Linked DNA regions of Homo sapiens: regions 2 and 3 are each linked to region 1. Evidence: promoter capture Hi-C in 16 types of primary human blood cells and fetal thymus (Javierre and others, 2016). All regions are on one chromosome and are shown on one strand. Each heading gives the region's core, a stretch centred on a gene start or on the middle of the fragment in contact. The rest is flanking DNA. Distances are from core to core; before and after follow the strand shown. Region 1 holds the start of LINC00661 (long intergenic non-protein coding RNA 661). Region 2 holds the start of OR10H1 (olfactory receptor family 10 subfamily H member 1). Region 3 holds the start of OR10H5 (olfactory receptor family 10 subfamily H member 5).

What was found. The method cuts DNA at HindIII sites, captures the fragments that hold promoters and counts their contacts. A CHiCAGO score of 5 or more calls a contact.
Region 2: the fragment with the promoter of OR10H1 here is called in contact with the fragment with the promoter of LINC00661 in region 1 in 5 of 17 cell types (naive CD8 T cells, erythroblasts, total CD8 T cells and 2 more); the score reaches 7.8 in naive CD8 T cells.
Region 3: a contact is called between the fragment with the promoter of OR10H5 here and the fragment with the promoter of LINC00661 in region 1, in 7 of 17 cell types (erythroblasts, naive CD8 T cells, non-activated CD4 T cells and 4 more). The highest score is 10.6, in erythroblasts.

What each region holds. Positions count from the first base shown.
Region 1 is chr19:16,013,210-16,017,130 of GRCh38, forward strand. It overlaps LINC00661 (long intergenic non-protein coding RNA 661), which reads left to right and starts at 2,425. Exons shown (of 9, transcript NR_026828.1): 1 at 2,425-2,580. It overlaps LOC105372291 (a long non-coding RNA gene), which reads right to left and starts at 1,847. Exons shown (of 2, transcript XR_936355.1): 1 at 1,762-1,847; 2 at 927-1,176. The HindIII fragment of the contact is 12,039 bases long and covers 1-3,921 here.
Region 2 is chr19:15,813,609-15,817,266 of GRCh38, forward strand. It overlaps OR10H1 (olfactory receptor family 10 subfamily H member 1), which reads right to left and starts at 2,056. Exons shown (of 4, transcript NM_013940.4): 1 at 1,947-2,056. The HindIII fragment of the contact is 16,264 bases long and covers 1-3,658 here.
Region 3 is chr19:15,786,335-15,790,043 of GRCh38, forward strand. OR10H5 (olfactory receptor family 10 subfamily H member 5) reads left to right here and starts at 1,327. Exons shown (of 2, transcript NM_001004466.2): 1 at 1,327-1,382. The HindIII fragment of the contact is 16,043 bases long and covers 1-3,709 here.

The sequences.
Region 1 (3,921 bases), core at 1,175-3,674:
CATGGGTGACAGAGGCAGCCTCCATCTCAAAAACAAACAACAAAAAACCTAGTCAGTGGGGGTGTAGGGAGTGGTATTTTGTTCAGTAGGGGCCTGGTCACTGGGGGTCTGGTCAGCGGGATCTGAAAAGTAGAGCCTCGTTAGTAGGGGTTGGGCGGTTAGCACCTGGTCAGTGGAAACCTCGTCATTGTGGTCTAGTCAGCTGAGGCCTGGCGGTGTGGTCCTGCTCAGTCAGCGAAGGTCTCACCATTGGAAGCATGTCAGTGTGGCCTAGTCAGCAGATCCCGGTCCATGGGATTTGGTTATTTGGGACCTGGTCAATGGGGACGTGTTCTGTGGGGACCATGTCAGCAGAGACCTGGTTGTCAGGGGTGTGGTCAGCTAATGCGGTGCCACCGAAGGACTCCCCAGTGGGGCCTACTCAGTGGGGCCCTGGTCAGTGGAGGCCTGGTTGTAAGGGGCACTGTTGGCAGTGACCTTGTCATTGAGCTCCTGGCCAGTTGGGACCAGTCAGTGGTTTGGGTCAGTGGGGCCTGGTCTGTGGGGCCATGTCATGTGGTCTGGTCAGTGGGGCCCTGGCAGTGTGGGCCTGGTCATCAGAAGCCTAGTCAGTGGGGGGGCCTACTCACGGGGGTGTTGGTCAGTGAGGACATGGTCATTGTGGTCGGCTTAACGGGATCCATTCAATGAGGGTCAGGTCATGGAAAATCTGGTCAGTGGGGTTTGATCAGCAGGGGACTGCTCAGTGGGGATCGGACCAGTGGGGCCTGGTCAGCAGGCGGCCGGCAGTTCCTGGGGCCTGGTCAGTGGGGTCCAGCAGTTGGGACCTGGTTGATTGGAGGGTCCAGCCCTACGGGACTTAGCGGGTGTTCTCCCCGTGTGCAGAGACGAGAGAGCGTAAGAAATAAAGACACAAGACCAAGAGATAAAGAGAAAACAGCTGGGCCCGAGGGACCACTACCATCAAGACGCGGAGACCAGTAGTGGCCCTGAATGGCTGGGCACACTGATATTTATTGCATACAAGACAAGGGGCGTAGGGTCAGGAGGGTGAATCTTCTAAGTGATTGACAAGGTGAAGCAAGTCACGTGATCACAGCACAGGGGGCCCTTCCCTCTTAGGTAGCCGAAGCAGAGAGAGAGAAGGCAGCATACGTCAGCGTTTTCTTCTATGCACTTACAAGAAAGATCAAAGACTGTAAGACTTTCACTATTCCTTCTACCGCTATCTACTACAAATTTCAAAGAGGAACCAGGAGTACGGGAGGAACATGAAAGTGACCATTGGAGCACAGCACCACAAGGAGGGGTTTAGGCCTCCGGATGACTGCGGCAGGCCTAGATAATATCCAGCCTTCCACAAGAAGCTGGTGGAGCAGTGTTCCCTGACTCCTCCAAGGAAAGGAGACTCCCTTTCGCAGTCTGCTAAGTAACGGGCGCCTTCCCAGACACTGGCGTTACCGCTTGACCAAGGAGCCCTCAAGCTGCCCTTATGCACGCGTTGACAGAGGGCTCACCTCTTGCCTTCTAGGTCACTTCTAACAATGTCCCTTCAGCACCTGACCCTCTACCCGCCAGTTATTCCTAGGTTATGTTAGTAACGCAACAAAGAGTAATATTAAAAGCTAATGATTAATAATGTTTATAATAATGATTGATAATTGTCCATGATCATCTCTATATCTAATTTGTATTATGACTATTCTTATTCTAACTATTTTCTTTATTATACTGAAACAGTTTGTGTCTTCAGTCTCTCACCTCGGCACCTGGGTAATCCTCCGCCCACAGTCAATAGGGGTCTGCAGCTGGGGCAAGGTCAGCGGGGATCTGATCAGTGAGACCTAGTCAGGTCTCACTGACTGACTAGGCCCTGGGGGTTGGGGCCTGGCCAGCAAGAGTCCAGTAGTTGGGGCGTGTTTGGCGAGGGTCTCATGGTTGGGGTCTGGCCAGCGGGGGTCCCACAGTTGGGGCCTGGTGAGCAGAGATCTGGCAGTTGCAGCCTCGTCCATGGGGGTCTGGCAGTTGGGGCCTGGTCAGCGGGGTCTTATAGTTGGGGCCTGTTTGGAGGGGGTCCAGCAGTTGGGGCCTGGTCAGAGGGGATACGGCAGCTGGGGGTTATTTGGCAGGGATGCAGCAGCTGGGACCTGGTAGGTGGGGTCTGGCGGTTGGGGCCTGGTCAGTGAGGATCAGATCAGTGCGGTCTAGGCAGTGAGGTCTGGACGCTGGGCCTTCATCTGCATGGGTCTCGCAGTTGGGACCTGGTCAGCAGGGGTCTACCAGTTGGGGCCTGGTTGGCGGAATCAGGCAGTTGGGACCTGGTTGTCGGGGGTCCAACAGTTGGGGCCTGGTCAAAGGGGATCCAGCAGTTGGAACCTGGTCAGCAGGGCTCTGGCAGTTGGGGCCTGGTCATTGGGGTCTGGCAGTTGGGGCCTGGTCAACAGGGGTCCAGGAGCTGAGGCCTGGTTGGTGGGCCGTCTAGCAGTTGAGGCCTGGTCATCTGGGCCCGGCATTTGGGGCCTGATCGGCGGGGATCAGAGCAGTGAGGCCTAGTCAGTGAGGTGTGGATGTGGGGGCCTGGTAAGCAGGGGCCCAGCAGTTGGGGTCTGGTCAGCAGGGGTCTCATAAGAAGAGGCCTGGTTGGCAAGGGTCTGGCAGTTGGGGCTCAGTCAGGAGGGGTCTAGGAGTTGGGGCCCAGTCAGTGGGGTCTGGCAGTTTGGGCTTGATCAGTGCAGTCCAGCAGTTGTTGGGGCCTGGTCAGTGGGGGTCCAGTAGCTGGGACATGGTCAGTGGAGTCCAGCGTCCGGGGCCTGGTTGGCAGGGGTCTGACAGTTGGCGCCTGGTTGGTGGGGATCCCATAGTTGGGGCCTGTCAGCAGGGATCCAGCATTTGGGGCCCAGTCAGTGGGGTTCAGCTTTTGGGGCCTGGTGAGTGGGGTTCAGCATTTGGGGCCTGGCCAGCAGGGGTCCAGCAGTTGTTAGGGCCTGGTCAGCGGGGGTCTGATTAGTGAGATCTATTTGGTGGGGTCCATCAGTTGGGACCTAGTCAGTGAGGGCCGTGAGGGCCTTGTCAGTTGCAGCCTTGTTATTGTGGCCTTTGTCAGTGGTGTCTGATGAGCCAGGGCCTGGTCTGTGGGGCCCAGTCAGCAGGACCTGGTCAGTCCACATCTGGTCAGTGGGACCTGGTCATTGTGGGGGTGGTCAGCTAGGACCTGTTCAGTGGGAGCTTAACCATTGGAAGCCTGGCCAGTGGGATCCTGGGTGATCTCAGGCCACGGGTTAGTCCTCGAAGCCTCCGTGATTGCCTCCATCCATGGGGTGGGGGGTGAGTCACAGCACCCCAGTGGGCTTCTGGGAGGAGGAGGTGAGAGGGTGCATTGCATTGAATCCAGCCCTGCCACACAGACCTGGCACTTTACACACTACGCGAGTCACCCCAAGGGGGAAGCCTGGCTTCTGCCCTCTGCCCTCTGCCCTCTGCCCTTTGCCCTATGTCCCTGCCCCATCTGCATCCCCAGGACCACCCAGCATGGAAAGAGCAGAGGCTGAGGAGCACCTATGGGTGCTCTGATGCTGGCCACAGGCCCGGGGGTGACAGTGACAGGGATCCAGGTGCACACCTGAGTGGAGCAGCCAGGCCCAGCTGGAGGAGAGACGTGTTCACCCACACACATGCATCCTCACATACACAGACAAATTGCACGCATACATGTTGACCATTAAGCGGGCAGAGGACGCTGACCCTGGGCCCTGCTGAGCCAGGTAGGGCCCCGTCATGACAGAGGCTGTGAACCCATGCTGTCACTGTGCCAAGTGCCGCCAGCCTACCTCCGTGTCATGGAGCAGTTGGAGACACAGAGGTGCTGTAAGTGGTTGTGCAGAAAGGACCCTTTTCTGGGTGAGAAGCACATCTCAGCACCGC
Region 2 (3,658 bases), core at 806-3,305, 200 kb before region 1:
AGCACACACAGAGAGAGAGAGAGATGGAGGGAGAGAGAGAAGTGGGGAGATAGAGAGTGGGAGGTGGGGGGAGAGAGAGAGAGAAGGACAGGGAGAAAGACACAGAGAGAGGTGGGGAGAGAGAAGTGGGGAGAGAGACACAGAGAGTGTGGGAGGTGGGGAGAGAGAGGGTTGGGGAAAGAGAGAGAGAGACAGAGAGAAGGGTGGGGAGAGAGAGAGAAGTGGAGAGAGAGGGAGGTGGGAAGAGAAACAGAGAGAGGAAAGAGAGGTAGGGAGAAAGAGAGGACAGAGGGGAAAGAGAAGAAAAAGGTGAGAAGAAAGAGAGAGAGCAAGCAAGCCCACTGTCTAGCACTGACAGGAACACCCGGTGGGGCCAGTTCTCCACTCAGAGACTCTAGGGCTAAGCGTGGCTGTGGACAAGTCCTGCCACAGACATCCCTAGAGCAGGGTTTCCTGCCTTCAGCATTAGGGACGCTAGGGGCGAATCATTCTCTCTCAGAGGGGTGTCCTGTGCACTGCAGGAGACTGAGCAGCATTCTTGGTCTCCACCCACCAGATAGATACCAGCAGCACTCCCCAGTCACGACAATCAGAAATGTCCTTATACGTTGTCACGTGTCTCCTGGGTGACAGCATCACTCCATGGGCCAGGCCTGTCTTGTCTCTGAGACCCCATCTGGCCTTAACTCTCACCCATCCTGGCTCTCTCTTCTTAGTGAAGCTGTCTGGCCTCCCCTCTCTTCCACTTAAGCCACCACTTCCCTCTCTTTTCTCTCCATCTTCTCATCCCCAGCTCCTAACCATTCCCTCACCACCTGCTCCCATTGACGCCTCCCTTGTGTGTGTGTGTGTGTGTGTGTGTGTGTGTGTGTGAGAGAGAGAGAGAGAGAGAGAGAGAGAGAGAGAGAGAGAGAGAGAGAGAGAGACAGGGTATCCCTCTGTCACCCAGGCTGGAGTGCAGAGGCACAATCACAGCTCACTGCAGCCTTAACTTCCTGGGCTCAAGCAATCCTCCCACCTCAATCTCTGGAGTAGCTACAGGTGCCTGCCATTCCTGGCCAATTTTTGTATTTTTTTGTACAGACAGGGTCTCACTATGCTGCCCAGGCTGGCCTCAAACTCTTGGACTCAAGTGATCCTCCCACCTTGGCCTCCCAAAGTGCTGGGATTGCAGGCATGAGCCACTGCACCCGGCCCACCCTGATTCTTTACACCCTGGGGTGGTGGCTGGAGCTTCTGAACCCTGAATCCTCTTTCTCTCTTTTCTCCGCCTCTTCCCAATCCTTTTTCCGTAGACTTCTTGCCTGGACAGACCGAGAAGAGAGGTTAAAATCAAACCATCACCTTGGGTCACATTGAGCATTGGCTGTCTTCTCTCTGCACCTGTTACCTCCCCCATCCAAGGGACCTACCTCATGAGGCAGCAGGAGCTCTAAAGAAGGCAAGTCCTGGCTGGGCACGATGGCTCATGCCTGTAATCCCAGTACTTTGGGAAGCCGAGGCGGGTGGATCACGAGATCAGGAGTTCAAGACCAGCCTGTCCAGCATGGTGAAACCCCTGTCTCTACTAAAAATACAAAAAATTAGCCAGGCATGGTGGCACGCACCTGTAGTCCCAGCTACTCAGGAGGCTGAGGGAGAAGAATCGCTTGAACCTGGCAGGCGGAGGTTGCAGTGAGCCGAGATTGCGCCACTGCACTCCAGCCTGGGCTACAGAGCGAGATTCCGTCTCAAAAAAAAAAAAAAAAAAATAGAAGAAGGTAAGTCCTGCTAAGCAAACAGCACACTGACTAAGACGTGGTGAGTGGCCTCTGCCTGTCACCCACTGCCCTGTAGACTCACATTGCTAAAGGAGTAATATAAACAGGTGGTTTCTTGGAGTCCCTGGCAGGTGCTGGTTCCCCAGGTCTCTCCTGGTCAGGTGGCTGAGAGGGGAGGTGACTCACCTGGGACTCCAGGCATCTGCTTCTGCTTCATCCCAGTAGGAGGCTCTAGTTTGGAGTTTCTCCACAGGTGGGAGCTGACCAGGTGTGGGCTGCACCAAGCAGCCACACCAGCTGAGCCGGGGGCTTGACTGAGCCCAAATGCGATTATTTATCCCTCCCTGACTCCCTGCCCACCGGCTTCCCTCGCTGTGGTCCTACTGTCTCTGTCTCCGCTACAGGGATGCTGGGACCCCAGGGACCCTGCCAGAGAGGAGGCAACCTCAGGGAATCTGTATCCTCACTTTCCCATTCCCCCCGCCTGCCAGGGGTGAGTCAATTCCCTGAGCTTGTCAAGAGCTTGAGCAGAGTCTAGTGCTCTACAGATTTGGGGTTTGGGCCCATGACTGTTGAAATTGACAGGAGGGCAGCCCTGCCATTGCCCCCAGGGACTGCAGAGGCTGCCTTGATATGCCCCGTCACCTTCATTCTTCTCCAACTGGGTCATTTGCCCAACTAAATGTCCTTTAAAATAATTTTTTAAAACCAACACACACACACGTATTTGTTTTTATTTTTATTTTTTGAGACAGGGTCTAGCTCTGTTGCCCAGGCTGGAGTGCAGTGGTGTGATTATGGCTCACTGCAGCCTCAACCTCCCAGGCTCAAATGATTCTCCTGCCTCAGCCTCCTGAGCAGCTGGGAGTAAAGGTGCTTGCCACCACACCTGGGCTAAGTTTTAATTTTTCTGTAGAGATGGGGTCTCGCTTTGTTGCCCAGGCTGGTCTTGAGCTCCTTGGCTCAAGGGATCCTCCCACCTTGACCTCTCAAAGTGCTGGGATTACAGCTGTGAGCCACCATGCCTGGCCTGTTTCTTCTTATTATGTAATTGAAATGCTACATACAAAGCAGCAAACCATGCAATGGCCAGCCAGGCAATCGTGACGGTGAATTTAATGGGTATCCCTTCAGATCTTCATGAGCATGTAGGATGTGAAAACAATGCAAACCCATAAAATCAGAGTTCTGTTGTGCATTATTGTTGCTTTCGCTTCGTTCTGCTTTTGAGGTGAAATTCACATAAAATAATCAACCACTTTAAAGTATACAATTCCCTGGGATTGAATGCATTCACAATGTTGTGTGGCCGCCGCCTCTGTCTAGTTCCAAAATGTTTTCATCACCTAATACCCATTAGCAGCCACTCCCCTACCCCACCCAGTCCTTCAAAACCACCAATTTGTTTTCTGGCTCTGGCTCTATGGACTTACCTATTCTAGACATTTCATATAAATGGGACTATATACTACTATATATAACGATGCATTATGATTGCCCCTGTGAGTAGCCACGGCACTCCAGCCATTTTGTCAACACAAAAATGTCGACATTGCCAAGACTGAGAAACTTTGGTCTGCATAAACTCACACAGAGTTCACTCTAAGACGCTGAGTGAAAAACCAAGTTACGGAAAGATATCTACGGGAGAATCAGATCTGCATTTTAAAAACACACAAAATGGTTTGACAGTTTATCAAAAAGTTAACATAGAAATTATCAAAGGACTCAGCAATTTCACTCCTAGGTATACACCCAAAAGAATGGAAAAGGATTCAAACAAATCCTTGGACATCAAATGTGCATAGCAGCACTGTTCACAGTAGCCAAACGGTATTTTTTAATTTTTCTGTAGAGAGTAGGATTTCACTTTGTTTCTCAGGCTGCTCTTGGAACTC
Region 3 (3,709 bases), core at 77-2,576, 230 kb before region 1:
AAAGCAACGGCAACAAAAGCCAAAATTGACAAATGGGATATAATTAAACTAAAGAGCTTCTGCACAGCAAAAGAAACTACCATCAGAGTGAACAGTCAACCTACAGAATGGGAGAAAATTTTTGCAATCTACTCATCTGACAAAGGGCTAATATCCAGAATCTACATCTGACTAATTTTTGTATTTTGAGTAGAGATGGGGTTTCGCCATGTTGGCCAGGCTGGTCTTGAGCTCCTGAACTCAAGTGATCCACCTGCCTCAGCCTCCCAGAGTGCTGGGATTACAGGCATGAGCCACCGCGCCCGGCCCCCAACTCACTAATTCTCTCTTCAATTGTGTCTGACATGCATTAAACTTCTCCTGGGATATTAATATTGTAGCTTTGGTTCTAAAAATTATATATCTTTTTTTTCAAATCAACCCTGCCGCTCTTTACAATGCTTTATCCTTGAAGATATTTCCAAAATTACATTTCGTTATTTAAACTTCGTAAGCAATATTGTTTCATAGTCCTTGCCTGATAATTCCAGTATCTGAAATCTTTGTTGGACTGTTTCTGGAGTTATGGGGAACTGGGAGATTCTGAAGGTGTTGATACCTGGGTCATGATGCACCCTGTCAAGTTTATGGGGAGGAAGAGGCAGAGCTGGAGCTCTTGGCCCCTCCACTCCATCTGGGCTTGCTGCAGGAACCTACCGTGTGACCTTGGCCTTGTTCCCTGCCCTCTGTGGGCTTTGTGTTCCCAGAGGCAACCATAGAGGATGCTTCTTCTGAGAATCACACCTCTGTGTCTCTCCAGATCCCTTTCCTGATATCTGTTGAGAAGAGACACCATCCTGGGAAACATCACCCAGAATCCAGTCCCATTTTTCCAAAATGCTTGGAATTGGGGCAGCCCAGCCCAGCCTCGCTAGCCGCAGGGGGTGGTGGTGGTGGTGGTGTCAGGGTTTGATGGTGGTGTCAGGGTTTGATGGTGAGATCTTTAGGGAGGAGGTGATGTAAAAACTGAAACCTCAAATGAGAACAGGACTGAGATAAGTGAGAGTGAGTAGTGGTGGAAGGGGTCCCAGGCAGGAGGAAGGGAGGAAAGATGGAAGAAGGGAAGAAGAGAGGAAGGAAGGAAGAGAAGGAAGAAAAGAGGGAGGGAAGCAGCAAAGGAAGGAGGGAGGCAGGAATGGAGAGGGCAATCCCAAGGTCCCCCGCCTCCCTCCTTGGACTTCGATTACCCTGCATCCTGCATCCCAGGCAGGCTCCTCAAGACACCTCTGGGAACGTGCCACTGGGGAAGACGCCTGCAGAGATGAAGCTCTCACCCTGGGTGCACTGTGCCCAGGGCCATTACAGGCCTGGCTGCAAGGCGTCCCTAAAGGTCTCTGATGAAGGTAAGTGGAGTCGTCTATTTCCAAACCTGCTTTCCAGGATGAAGTGGCAAGAGTACTGGGAGGTGGAAGGGAGAAGGCAAGAGAAGCAGGGAAAATTGGAACAGAGGGAGGCACAGGTTTGGGAAAAGAAACGAGAGGGAGCATGGGATGATATGGAGTAGGGGTTCTATAGCCTCAGCCACCTGACTCCAGGCTGGATCAGCCTGTCCTCACTCCAAGTCCCCCATAGAGTCCACCTACTGCCTAGAGCAGCCCCCTTTCCACAGCAGTCGTGGCCACCAGGGTCCATGCTGGGGTGGGGAGTGGTCTCTATACTAAGTTGTGGAGGAGGGTGGTTCTGAGCCAAGCGGGTGACATTGAGTGTGTCACCATGCATGTGGGTGTACTTAGGCATCACCCATGTGTACTCCTGCCTTCACTGTGTGTGTGTGTGTGCAGTTGTGTGCGCTTGTATGAGATTATTGTAGCTGCCATTTCAAAGTGCCGCAAACCTTGTGGCTTAAAACAAGATAAATGCATTCTTGCAGGGTTCTGGAGGCTAGACGTCTTAAAGCAAGACGTCTACAAAGCTACTCTCCCTCTGAAGATTCTAAGGGAGAAGATGCCTTGCCTCTTCCAGCTTCTGGGTGCTCTAGGCATTGATTGATTTGTAGCTGCATCGCTCCAATCTCTGCCTCTCTCTTCACGCGACCTTTTCCTCTGTGTGTCCTCCCCTCGTCTTTGAGGGGCACCAGTTGTTGGATTTAGTAAACAACCTAATTCAGAATAATCTCATTTTTATTTTTATTATTATTATTTTTTGGACAGGGTCTCGCTCTGTCACCCAGGCTGGAGTGCAGTGGCACGATCACAGCTCACTGCAGCCTCGACCTCCCAGGCTCAACTGATCCTCCCACTTGGCCTCCTAAGCAGCTGTTAGCGCAGGCACACAGCACCACGCCCAGCTAATTTTTGTAGAGATGGGGTTTTGCCATGTTGCTCAGGCTGGTCTCGAACTCCTGGATTCAAGCAATCCCCCGCCCCACCCACCTTGGTCTCCCACAGTGCTGGGATTATAGGTGTGAGCCACCACACCCAGCTGATCTCATTTTTGGATCCTTACCTTAATGACATCTGTAAAAGACTCTATTGCCACCTAAGGTCACATTATTTTATTTTAGTTTAGTTTAGTTTGGTTTCAGGGTACATGCTCAGGATGTGCAGGTTTGTCACACAGGCAAATGTGTGCCATGGTGCTTTGCTGCACCTATCAACCTATCACCTAGGTATTAAGCCTGGCATACATTAGCTATTTTTCTGAGGCTCTCCCCACCCCTGCCCTACCCCAACAGGCCCCAGTGTGTGTTGTTCCCCTCCCTGTGTCCAAAGGTCACATTCTGAGGTTCTGAATGAACATGAGTTTTGGAGGGACATGATTCAACACACACAGTGCCCTCACACATGGAATGGCTGTGTGTCTCCAGTTTATTCCAGCCCCAGATGAGCACCAGGCATTTGGCAAGGGCTCCATAGGTGTGTGCAGAATGAGTGGTGGTGTCTCTGGTTCTGGCTGGGGGTGTCACCGCCAGTGTGCATTTCAGAGCCAGTGCGACTGTGTGGCATTGCTCAGATCTGTCTGCCTTTGCATCTGTGTGTTCAGTTGTATGATAAAGTGCATAAGCAGAAAGAGCTGGATGAGTTGAATTGTGTCTCCTTTGAGGAGAGAGGGCACTGGAGCAGGGTCTGGGAGCCTGCGTGTGTGCCAGCCTGGGATTCTGCATTTGCACCAGCCTGGGATTCTGTGTGTGCACCAGCCTAGGGTTCTGCGTGTGCATCATTCTGGAGTTCTGTGTGTGCAGAAGCCTGAGGTTCTGCGTGTGCACCAGTCTGGGGTTCTGCCTGGGAGCCCTCAGCTGGGAGAAGGACCCTGACCTTTGTCCTTCCCTAGGTCTAGACTTGTGCAGGGGAGTTGGAGAGCCCCCTTGGAGATTTCTGCTAAGGTGCTGTTCTGGGAAAGAGTGGGACAGAATGTGCCAGAGAGCTGAGAGAGCCCTTTCTGTATTTCTCTTTTCTTTTTTTTCTTTTCTTTTCTTTTTTTTTTTTTGAGACAGGGTCTCGCTCTGTCACCCAGGCTGGAATGTAGTGGCATGAACATGGCTCACTGCAGCCTCGAATTCCTGTACTCAAGCAATCCTCTCACCTCAGCCTCCTGAGTAGCTGGAACTACAGGTGCACATCACCACGCCTGGCTAATTTAAAAACAATTTTTTTGGTAAAGATGGGATCTCACTATGTTGCCCAGGCTGGTCTCAAACTCCTGGCCTCAAGTGATCCTCCTGCCTCAGCCT